2 separate regions of the Homo sapiens genome follow, and region 2 is linked to region 1. Evidence: promoter capture Hi-C in human tissues and cell types (Jung and others, 2019). All regions are on one chromosome and are shown on one strand. The core of a region is centred on a gene start or on the middle of the fragment in contact, and the rest is flanking DNA. Distances in the headings are between cores, read along the strand shown.

Region 1 (5,094 bases), core at 2,286-4,785:
CCCACCCCAGCTAAGAGGTAGATGAGTCGGGGCAAATTATTTAATTCTTCTGAGCCTCGTCTGTAAAATATCGATGATAATGCTCTCACCAACACCACAGGGTGGTTATAAAGATTAGAAATACTCTGTGGCTGGCATACAGTAGGTGAACAATAAACCATATCTCAAGATCCCCAAAAGGGGGTCACAGAGGCAGTTTGGAGATTAGACATTGATTCTTGTTTGATGCTTTAATAAATATTTGAAATTCGTTTCATACTTCACACTTACAGTAGACAAAAGGTTATAGAAAATGAAGGTTATAAAAAATGCATACTGATGGAAACTTTTTGGTATTTTTTAATCGATGTATCATGGTTGTAAATATTTTGGGGGGATGATAGAAACATTTCAATACCCAGCAAAATTGTAAGAAAGCAGACTGAACAACCTTTAAGGATGAAAACCTTAAAAACACGAAATGCCATTTGCCCCAGCATCTATTTAACCTAAGAAAATAATATTGGGTGGTAGCAAGATTTAGAAAAACAAAGGAAGTCATCATTGCTTTATAAGAGCAAAAGTGGAAACCACAAATTTATTAAATGCACAGGTTTAAAAGTGTACAGTCTCTCCATCAAATTGAACACTATGTAGTCATTAAAATAAAAATTCTTCCATGCAGAAAAATATTCTACATGGAAAGATAATCACAACACAGCAGGCAAAAATCACAAGAGACAAAACAGCCTGGCTGGGCGTAGTGGCTCATGCCTGTAATCCCAGCACTTTGGGGGGCCGAGACGGGCGGATCACGAGGTCAGGAGATTGAGACCATCCTGGCTAACACGGTGAAACCCCGTCTCTACTAAAAATACAAAAAAATTGGCGGGGCGTGGTGGCGGGCGCCTGTAGTCCCAGCTACTCGGGGGGGGCTGAGGCAGGAGACTGGCATGAACCCGGGAGGCGGAGCTTGCAGCCTGGGTCAGACAGCAGGACTCCGTCTCAAAAAAACAAAACAAAACAAAACAAAACAAAACAGCCGATTTCACTTTTGTTTAAAAACACACCCAAGGCCAGGTATGACAGCTCATACGTGTAATCCCAGTGCTTTGGGAGGCCACCATGGGAGGACTGCTTGAGGCTGGAAGTTCCAGACCGGCCCGGGCAACATAGTGAGACTTCATCTCTACAAAAAAATTTTTTCTTTTTCTTTTCTTTTTTTTTTTTTTTTTTGAGATGGTGTCTTGCTCTGTCACCCAGGCTGGAGTGCAGTGGCACGATCTCGGCTCACTGCAACCTCCGCCTCCTGGGTTCAAGCCGTTCTCCTGCCCTCCTGCCTCAGCCTCCCCAGTAGCTGGGATTACAGGCACGTACCACCATGCCCAGCTAATTTTTGTATTTTTAGTAGAGACAGGGTTTCACCATGTTGGCCAGGCTGGTCTCGAACTCCTGACCTCGTGATCTGCCTGCCTCGGCCTCCTAAAGTGCTGGGATTACAGGCTTTAGCCACCGTGCCAGGCCAAATTTTTTTAAAAAAATTAGCCAGGTGTGGTGGGTGCCGGTAGTCCCAGCTATTCGCGAGGCTGAGGCAGAGAGAATCGCTTGAGCTCAGGAGTCTGCAGTGAGCTATGATCACACCAGTGCACTCCAGCCTGGGTGACAGGCTAAAAGAATATATATACATATCTCTCTATAAAATATATGAAAATACAAAACAGAAATCAAAATTTAAGTTTTACGTTATTTCCACAGAAGATATTGTTAGTGATACCCCCTTTTTTTTTGCTCCTCTTTGCTTATCTTATGTTCTGAAATTAACATTTATCATTTTTGAATGATGGAAAATATATTTTACAGGAGCACCGTTGGAGTCTTTCACTTAACACTGCCTCCCAACCAGGCCAGTGGTCATGTAAATTAAGTCAATTGTCATAAAAGGGCTTGGAAGTTTCAAGGTAGTTAGCCAAAATAATTAAAATCCTGGTGAAATTTCACAGAGCTGGCCATTGAGCTTTGACTCCACTGACATGAGGCTGCTGTAAACAGACACCAGGCTCCATGTTTTCAAAAGGCCTAAAAACAGCACAAAATAAAATATAACAACGATTGTTCATGTAAAGGGCCACGTGCCATCTCTGTCCTGAGCAAATGTAACCTGAAACCCTCTCTGTCTGGCACTCCGGGTTGGCGGCACCTCTCTGGACGGTGTATTTGCTCTCCATTACTCAATTTACTTTCCTGAACTTGAAATGGAGTGGAATTTCAATGTAGAGTTACCCATTAGCTCCAGGGCTAAATTTAAACCTTTAATTAAATTAATCCGTTGATCTGAAACACATTGCTTCTCCCTCAAAAGTGCAGCAGGTTTCTTAGGTGTCACAGAGCTTAATTCAGTGTGGCAATTGTTCCTTACTGCATTTGTTAAGTTGCCCATACCGCCTGGGGAAACCCGCACACGTTTTCAGATCCCTCCAGGTGAACTCCTCCACCCTGTCCCCGCCCCCGCCCCCACCCCCAACCAAAACAAGCATTCGTTGTGGGTGGGGACTGCGACTCCTCCCAGATTCAGAGCTACTGCTCTGGGAGGGCCGTCAGGAACCCGTATTTATAGAAGACATGGTAGGTGCCAAACGTGCTTATGAGATAAACGACAGGGTAACTGTCCACATTGGTCCCAGTTTATGAGGGAGAAGAGATCATAATCTACAAAAATTTGCAAGGTGACCAGGGGAAAAGAGTGTAAGGTCATTTTAGCCCACCTGGGTCTTCACAGAAAATGGAGCACATTTCAGAGCCAAAGTAAAAAATTTGCGTTGTCCTTTGCTAAGAGAGAGATGAAAAGTGACAATACCATGGATTGGGGATGCGTGAGTTCGTTGGCCACATGTAAGATGTTCGTGCTTCTGGGCTCTTATGCATCCCAAGGCGTGCATTTATCCCGGGGGCTGCATCCTTGGCCTGGGAATGAATAGACCCAACTGCAATGGTTGTTAGCGATAGCTTTACGGTGGGACAGTCTCCATAGGGGCTGTGGACTTACCCGTGTTATTATGAAAAGGATCTATTTACTTCTCGGGGACCAACGGCCTTGCGGGGTCCAAGTAACTCGCTCGCAGTCCAAAACTCTGCAACGCTCCACATAACCGTCCTGTAGACCCACAACTCTCCCAGGAGCACAGCCCCAGGACCTAACCCACCGGGTTCTGCTCGCTCACCCAATTCCCAGTGCGAGCGCGCGGGGGAAACGTGCTCGCCTCCCGCACCTGGCTTCCGCGGCCCCGGGAGTCGCCAACTCTCCCAGCAGGCAGCTCCGACAACCCGGACAGCCGGGCCGATCCCCCGCCCCACCACCCGCTCGGCTCTCGCGTCCTCCTCTTCCTCCTCCCGTGGCCCCTTGCCTCCCGCCGTCTGCCTCTGCGGCCGCCGCCTGCGGCTTTGTTTTCCTCCCAGGTCGCATTCCCCACACGTGATTCCGTGTTATTGCAAAGAGGGCTTTGGAGCGCGAGCGCGGGGCGCGCGCACCTATAAATACGGACACCCGGCCCCGGAGCCCGCGAGCCAGCGGCCAGGCGACCGGCGGGCGGCCAGCCAGCGAGCCGAACTAGCCGAGCTAGGTAGCGAGGCGTGCGCGTGGGCCGGGGCGGCGGCGCCCCCATCCCCAGCACCGAGGGGCGAGCATGGCCCGCCCGCGGGGGGGCTGGACCGCCGCGCACGCCGCCCGATCCCCGCGCCCTACCCAGCCCGGGTCGCCGCCGCTCGCGCCCGCCGCTTAGCGCTCGGGCGCCGCTCGCTTCTCCGGGCATCGCGGAAATCCCGCCGCAGACGGACACAATGGCGGCGGCGGCGGCGGCCGCCACCACGGCCGCCTGCAGCAGCGGCAGCGCCGGCACCGACGCCGCGGGCGCCAGCGGATTGCAGCAGCCGCCGCCGCAGCCCCAGCCTCAGCCCGCGGCCGCCGCGCCGGCCCAGCCGCCGCCCGAACCCCCCCGGAAGCCGCGCATGGACCCGCGGCGCCGCCAGGCTGCCCTCTCCTTCCTCACCAACATCTCGCTGGACGGCCGGCTGCCGCCGCAGGACGCGGAGTGGGGCGGTGGCGAGGAGGGCGGCGCGGCCAAGCCGGGCGCCGGCGGCGCCTGCGGCGCGAGGACTCGGTTCAGCTTGCTCGCCGCTGCCGAGCGGGGCGGCTGCATCGCGCTCGCCGCGCCGGGCACGCCGGCTGCGGGGTTAGCCGCTGGGTCCGGCCCCTGCCTCCCACAGCCCTCGTCGCTGCCGCCCTTGATTCCTGGCGGCCATGCGACCGTGTCCGGCCCCGGGGTGGCGCGGGGGTTCGCGAGTCCCCTGGGCGCCGGCCGGGCGTCGGGGGAGCAGTGGCAGCCGCCCCGGCCGGCGCCTCTCGCCGCCTGTGCCCAACTGCAGCTGCTCGACGGGTCCGGGGCCGCCGGGCAGGAGGAGTTGGAGGAGGACGATGCCTTTATCAGCGTGCAGGTGCCGGCGGCCGCCTTTTTGGGCTCCGGGACCCCCGGGAGTGGGAGCGGCAGTCGGGGACGCCTCAACTCGTTCACTCAGGGAATCCTGCCCATCGCCTTCTCCAGGCCGACTTCGCAGAACTACTGCTCCCTGGAGCAGCCAGGCCAGGGCGGCAGCACCAGCGCCTTCGAGCAGCTGCAGAGGTCCCGGTGAGTATCCGGGATGCGACGCGCACCCAACCCTGCGTCCCGCCCGGCGCTCCCAGCCTCCCCGCGGTCTCTGGGCTACGGGACACGGGTTGCTCCCATTTTCCCGCGCCCTGCCGGATCCTGTGCTCCGGGCCCGAATCCCAAACCACGAGGGCACCCAAAAGAGGGGGCGTCCCCAGGGAGTGCGGGGTTACACGTGTTTGCACGAGCCCAGCATTCGCAGAGGAGCACCGCGCTTGTGCAGTGGGTCGGGAATTGGGAGTTGCAGGAGCCCAGTAGAAAGCGGCGTCCGAGCCTCCCCACACGAGATCACAAACTTCCTGAAACCCGGTCCAGACCCGGAGGCGCACTCTTCCCCGCGTGGGGCGAGACTCGGCCGGGCGCAGAGTGGAGCAGTGCAGGCCGGCAGCTGAGCGGCGCGTGTGAGCCTGAACTT
Region 2 (5,788 bases), core at 1,804-4,303, 120 kb before region 1:
TCTCCTGACCTCGTGATCCACCCGCTTCGGCCTCCCAAAGTGCTGGGATTACAGGCGTGAGCCACCTCACCCGGCCATATCACTTTGATTTTTTAAGGTAAACTATACTTCATACTGATCGCTCTAACTCAAATTCAGGACCACAGGATATTTATGTAAACTCCTCTATCTTACATCTTTATTTACTTTCCCACCTACTGAAAATCCCACTTCTCAGTGCCACCAACATAATTCCTTAATTTATTTTATTCCACAATACACATAAAGCAGTTTCAGAATAATACCACCAATAATATAATTAATGAAAATTGTTTGAAAACTTTTTGTATGCTCTTTTGTCCTTAAAATATATTCTATTAGAAATGTACAGTAAAATCACTGCGTTTTTTTTTTAAAGTCATTTGGGATAATTATTTTTTGCAGTTATGCCACCAACTCAGTACCTTATTTTGCTTTTGATTTTTTAGGAATTGGGTTTTTTTCTTTTCATATTTAATTCTTTTAAAAGTACATAAAGTATAATGTATTTTATATATATATATATAAAATGTATATAATGGACACAAAGTATGTACATTGTACCAGACTACAAGTATATTCAGATAAATCTCACGTCTATTCTTGGCCTCTATATCTTATAGCTCCCTATCCCTATAGGTAATCATTTGTTTAAAATTTATGATTTTTCTTCTATCCTAAAAAATAGAAGCAAATACATGTATATAGTCATGCTATCCATGACTCATATAGAATATTATATATACTTTGCTCTACTTTGCTTTTTTAGACGGAGTCTTGCTCTGTCACCAGGCTAGGGTGCAGGGGCGCCATCTCAGCTCACTGCAACCTCCACCTCCTGGGTTCAAGCGATTCTCCTGCCTCAGCCTCCCGAGTAGCTAGGACTACAGGCATGCGCCACCACGCGCAGCTAATTTTTGTATTTTTAGTGGAGATGGGGTTTCACCATGTTGGCCAGGATGGTCTCGATCTCTTGACCTTGTGATCTGCCTGCCTTGGCCTCCCAAAGTGCTGGGATTACAGGCATGAGCCACTGCACCTGGCCTGCTTTTTTTATTTAACTATAGATCCTGGAAATCACTCAAGTTGTATATAGCGATATTCCTCATTTCTTTTTAGCTCCATAGTACTTCATTATGTGACCCTACTGTAGTTTATACCCTAGCAGTGGACACTTGGGTTGTTGACAGTTATGCCTAGTGCACACAGTGCTGCAGTGAATAACCTTGCACATTCTCTTTTCATATTTTTGCCTGTAGATCATTGAGATAGATTCCTAGAAGTAGGACTGCAGAGTAACAACTGTCATTTTCCAGGTGGCTCATGCCTGTAATCCCAGCACTTCAAGAGGCTTTGGCGGAAGAATCGCTTGAGCCCAGGAGTTTGAGACCAGCCTGGGCAACACAGTGAGACCTCGTCTCTACAAAAATTAAAAATTAGCTAGGTGTGATGGTGTGTGCCTATAGTCCCAACTACTCAGGAAGCTTTGAGAAGATCGCTTGAGCCCAGGAAGTCAAGGCTGCAGTAAGCTATGATCACACCACTGCACTCCAGCCTGGGCCAACAGAGTGAGACCCTGTCTCCAAAAAAAAAAAGAACTGTCATTTTAAATGTTTCATGTTAAAGGTTCACTAGTTTTTTAGAAAATATGTATGAGTAGTTTTATTTATTCTGAAGCAATTAGATAGCTGGAGAACAAGAGGTGAATGGAAGTGTGGGGATGGAGGCATGGAGATGCTAGAATTCTCAGAGTTACATTGTTGCTTTTTCCACTGAGAATACTAAGACTGCAAACCTGGGAAGATGGATTGTGTAGTATCAGGGACAAGAAGCTTGTTTAAGTGATGCTTTGAGGTCTACTACAGATGCTGTTCTGCTAGGAGATTCCCTACGTCACGATAAGACACTATAGAAGTGGAGTAGTTAATATTCAGAAGAAAGGATATGGCCAAAATGTGATCTGCATAATCTTAGGAGTCCATAAACTCTTTGAAAGAAAATATAGTTGTGGCAATATTTTTTGTGTGTACTTTTCTGGTTTCCCTTTTCTAATTCACAGATCACACCAGAGCTGAGGGTTCTTGAGTTGAAACAAAAAAGGACTTATACTTAGAGTGACTAAAACTTTTCTTTTTGAGGGAAAGTGCTTGCCAACTAGAGGGGCATGTATGTGATCTTTTTATTACACTTCTATTTAAGGTATACTTTCTGTTTCATGGTGCTTTATTGCACTTTGCAGATACTGTTTTTTACAAATTGAAGGTATGTGGCAACCCTGTTTGAACAAATCTGTCAGCGGCATTTTTCCAACAACATGTGCTTACTTCATGTTTCTGTGTCACATTTTAGTAATTCTCACAATATTTCAAACTTTTTCATTATTATATCTGTTACAGTGTTCTGTGATCAGTGATCTTTGATGCTATTTTTTTTTTTTTTTCGAGACAGAGTCTCGCTCTGTCGCCAGGCTGGAGTGCAGTGGTGCCATCTTGTCTCACTGCAAGCTCTGCCTCCCGGGTTCATGCCATTCTCCTGCCTCAGCCTCCTGTGTAGCTGGGACTACAAGTGCCCGCCACCACGCCTGGCTAATTTTTTTGTGTTTTTTTAGTAGAGATGGGGTTTCACCATGTTAGCCAGGATGGTCTCGATCTCCTGACCTCATGATCCGCCTGCCTAGGTCTCCCAAAGTGCTGGGATCACAGGCGTGAGCCACCGTGCCCGGCCTGATGCTGTTATTATAAGTGTTTTGGGTCATCATGAACGATGCCCGTGTAAGACAGCGAACTCAATCAATGAATGTCGTGTGTGTTCTGGCTGCTCCACCAACCGACCATTTTCCCATCTCTCCTCCTCTTCTTGGGCCTCCCTATTCCCTGAGACACAACAACATTGAAATTAGGCCAGTTAAGAACCCTGCAATGGAAGCAGGCATGGTGGCTCATGCCTGTAATTCCAGAACTTTGGGAGGCTGTGATGAGCAAATCGAGACCAGCCTGGGCAACATGGAAGAACTCCATCTCTACAAAAAATACAAAAAAAATTAGCTGAGCGTGGTGGCACACGCCTGTAGTTCCAACTGTTATACTGCGGGAGGCTGAGGTGGGAGGATTGCTTGAGCCCAGGAGGTCGAGACTAGTGAGCTGTGATCGCGCCACTGCACTCCAGCCTGGGAGACAAAGTGAGATGCTGTCTCCAAAAAAAAAAAAAAAAAAAAAAACCAACTATGATGCCCTTTAAGTATACAAGTGAAAGGAAGAGTTGCACATCTCTTACTTTTAAATCAAATGCTAGAAATGATTAAGCTTAATGAGGAAGATATTTCAAAAGCCAAGATGGGTAAAAAGCTAGGCCTTTTACACCAGTCAGCCAAGTTGCAAATGCAAAGGAAAGTTCTTGAAGAAAATCACAAGTGCTACTCCAGTGAACACATCAATGGTAAGAAAGTGAAACAGACTCACTGCTGACATGGAGGAAATTTCAGTGGTCTAGATTGAAGATCAAACCAGCCACCGCATTCCTTTAAGCCAGTGCCTAATCCAGAGCAAGCCTCTAACTCTATTTAGTTTGAGGAAGCTGCAGAAGAAAAGTTTGAAACTAGCAGAGGTTGGTTCATGAGGTTTAAGGAAAGAAGCCATGTCCATAATATAAAAGTGCAAAGCAAATGGCAAGTACTGATATAGAAGCTGTAGCAGCAAATGATCTAGAATATCTGGCTGAGATCAGTGATGAAGGTGGCTGAACTAAACAATAGATTTTCAGTGCAGATGAAACAGCCTTCTATTGGAAGAAGATGCCATCTATGACTTTGATAACTAGAGAGGAGAAACCAGTGCCTGGCTTCAGAGCTTCAAAGGACAGGTTGACTCTTGTTTGGGTTAATGCGCTGGTGACTTCAAGTTGAAGCCAGTGCTCATTTACCATTCTGAAAATCCTAGGACCCTGAAGAATTATGCTCAATCTGCTGTGCCTGTGCTTTAGAAATAGAACAACAAAGCCTGGATGACAGCACATCTGTTTATGGCATGGTTTACTAAATATTTTAAGCCTATTGATCAGAAAAAAAAAAAAGATATCCTTTCAAAATATTGTAATCATCCAACAGTTGTTTTTTCTTTTTTTCCCACCATACAAATAGAGCTGATTCACTGAGACAGTGATATTATAGTAGAGAAAGAGTGTAATAATTGCAGAGTTAGTCAAGTGGGAGGACTGGAGTTATTATTTAAATCACCTTCCCCTAAAATGTGGAAGCTATGGTTTTTTAAGGATAGTTTGGCAGAGAGGGAGCTGGGAACGGGGAATGGAGATTGGTTGGGTTGGGGATGAAATTATAGGGGTCAAAGGTGTCTTTTTGCAGAGTCGGTTTTTGGGTGGGATCACAAGATCAATTGAACCAGTTTTTTGGTATGAGTTACCAGCGCAGGTGAGCCCACCTGGTCCGTCAGAATGTAGGGTCTGAAAAATACCTCACACCCCAAGGTTTTATAATAGTAATATCATTTGTATGTAGGAGCAATTGAGGTTAGAAATCCCATGACCTCTGTCTGCATGACTCCACTACTGAGCTATAATTTTAACCTCTTGACTGATTTGCTGGTTTTACATAGATGGTTTAAGTCTCTGAGCAAGAAGGAGGAGTTAGTTTTGGGAAGGAGCTGATAATCATCTTTGTTTTAAAATAACCTCGTGGCTAATTTGTTAGTTTTACAAAGGTGGTTTCAGTCCCTGAGCAAGGACAGGGCTGATTTCCAGAAGGAGCTGTTGTCATCTTTGTTTTAAAGTTAAACTAAATTTTTCTCATAGTTAATTTGGCCTATGCCCAAAAATAAAGACAGCTTAAAGGTTAAAAGCAAGATAAAGTCAGCTAGGTCAGATTTTTTCCACTGTCATAATTTTTGCAAAGGTGACCTCAATACTACTGTTCATTGACAAAGCACGTTGTCACCCAAGAGCTCTGATGGAGATGTACAAGGAGATGAATTTTTTATTTATTTATTTATTTAGAGACAGAGTCTCACTCTGTCACCCAGGCTGGAGTGAATGGCGCGATCTTGGCTCATTGCAACCTCCGCCTCCCGAGTTCAAGTGATTCTCGTGCCTCAGCCTCCCAAGTAGCTGGGATTACAGGCATGTGCCACCACGCCTGGCTAATTTTTTTTTTTTGTATTTTTAGTAGAGACAGTGTTTCACCATGTTGGCCAGGCTGGATGAATGTTGTTTTCATGCCCGCTAACACGTATCGTTCTGCAGACTGGATCAAGTAGTAGTTTGACTTTCAAGTTCTCTTATTTAAGAAATACAGTTTGTAAGGCTATCCCTGCCATTGATTCCTGTGATGGGCAAAGTAAACTGAAAACCTTCTGGAAAGGATTCACCATTCCAGATGACATTGAAAACATTCATGAGGCCAGGACTTCAAGACCAACCTGGGCAACATAGTAAGACCTCATCTGTACTAAAAAGCAAAAATTAGCTGGGTCTTGTGGCTTGCACCTGTAGTCCTAGCTAACTCAGGAGGCTGAGGCAGGGGGATTACTTGAGCCCAGGAGTTCAGGCTGCAGTAAGCTATGCTCATGCCACTTCACTCCAGCCTGGGCAACAAAGCAAGAACCTGTCTTAAAACAAACTAACTAAATAATAATGAATAAAATAAAATGTTGTGCTTCTTGATTGCTTTTTCTTCCCAACGTACTCCATAGCATATTAATCCATACCTAGTGGCTTTGACCCTCCTAGGTTTCCGTGATTCACAGTAGGATCTTATTCATTT

What was found. Contacts are between HindIII fragments. The study calls those that stand out against the background at their distance.
Region 2: a fragment that was not itself captured here is called in contact with the fragment with the promoter of CABLES1 in region 1 in 5 of the 25 tissues and cell types used here (adrenal gland, bladder, mesendoderm cells and 2 more).

The regions. Positions count from the first base shown.
Region 1 is chr18:23,131,950-23,137,043 of GRCh38, forward strand. It overlaps CABLES1 (Cdk5 and Abl enzyme substrate 1), which reads left to right and starts at 3,536. Exons shown (of 10, transcript NM_001100619.3): 1 at 3,536-4,658. The coding sequence starts at 3,814. RefSeq lists silencers at 2,335-2,424, 2,435-2,544, 3,305-3,384, 3,505-3,714, 3,845-4,054 and 4 more and an enhancer at 2,735-2,884. The HindIII fragment of the contact is 17,284 bases long and covers 1-5,094 here.
Region 2 is chr18:23,008,997-23,014,784 of GRCh38, forward strand. All of the region lies in intron 16 of RBBP8 (RB binding protein 8, endonuclease), which reads left to right. Among named protein-coding and RNA genes, the nearest start is that of RBBP8-AS1, 78 kb to the left of the region's middle. The HindIII fragment of the contact is 5,014 bases long and covers 547-5,560 here.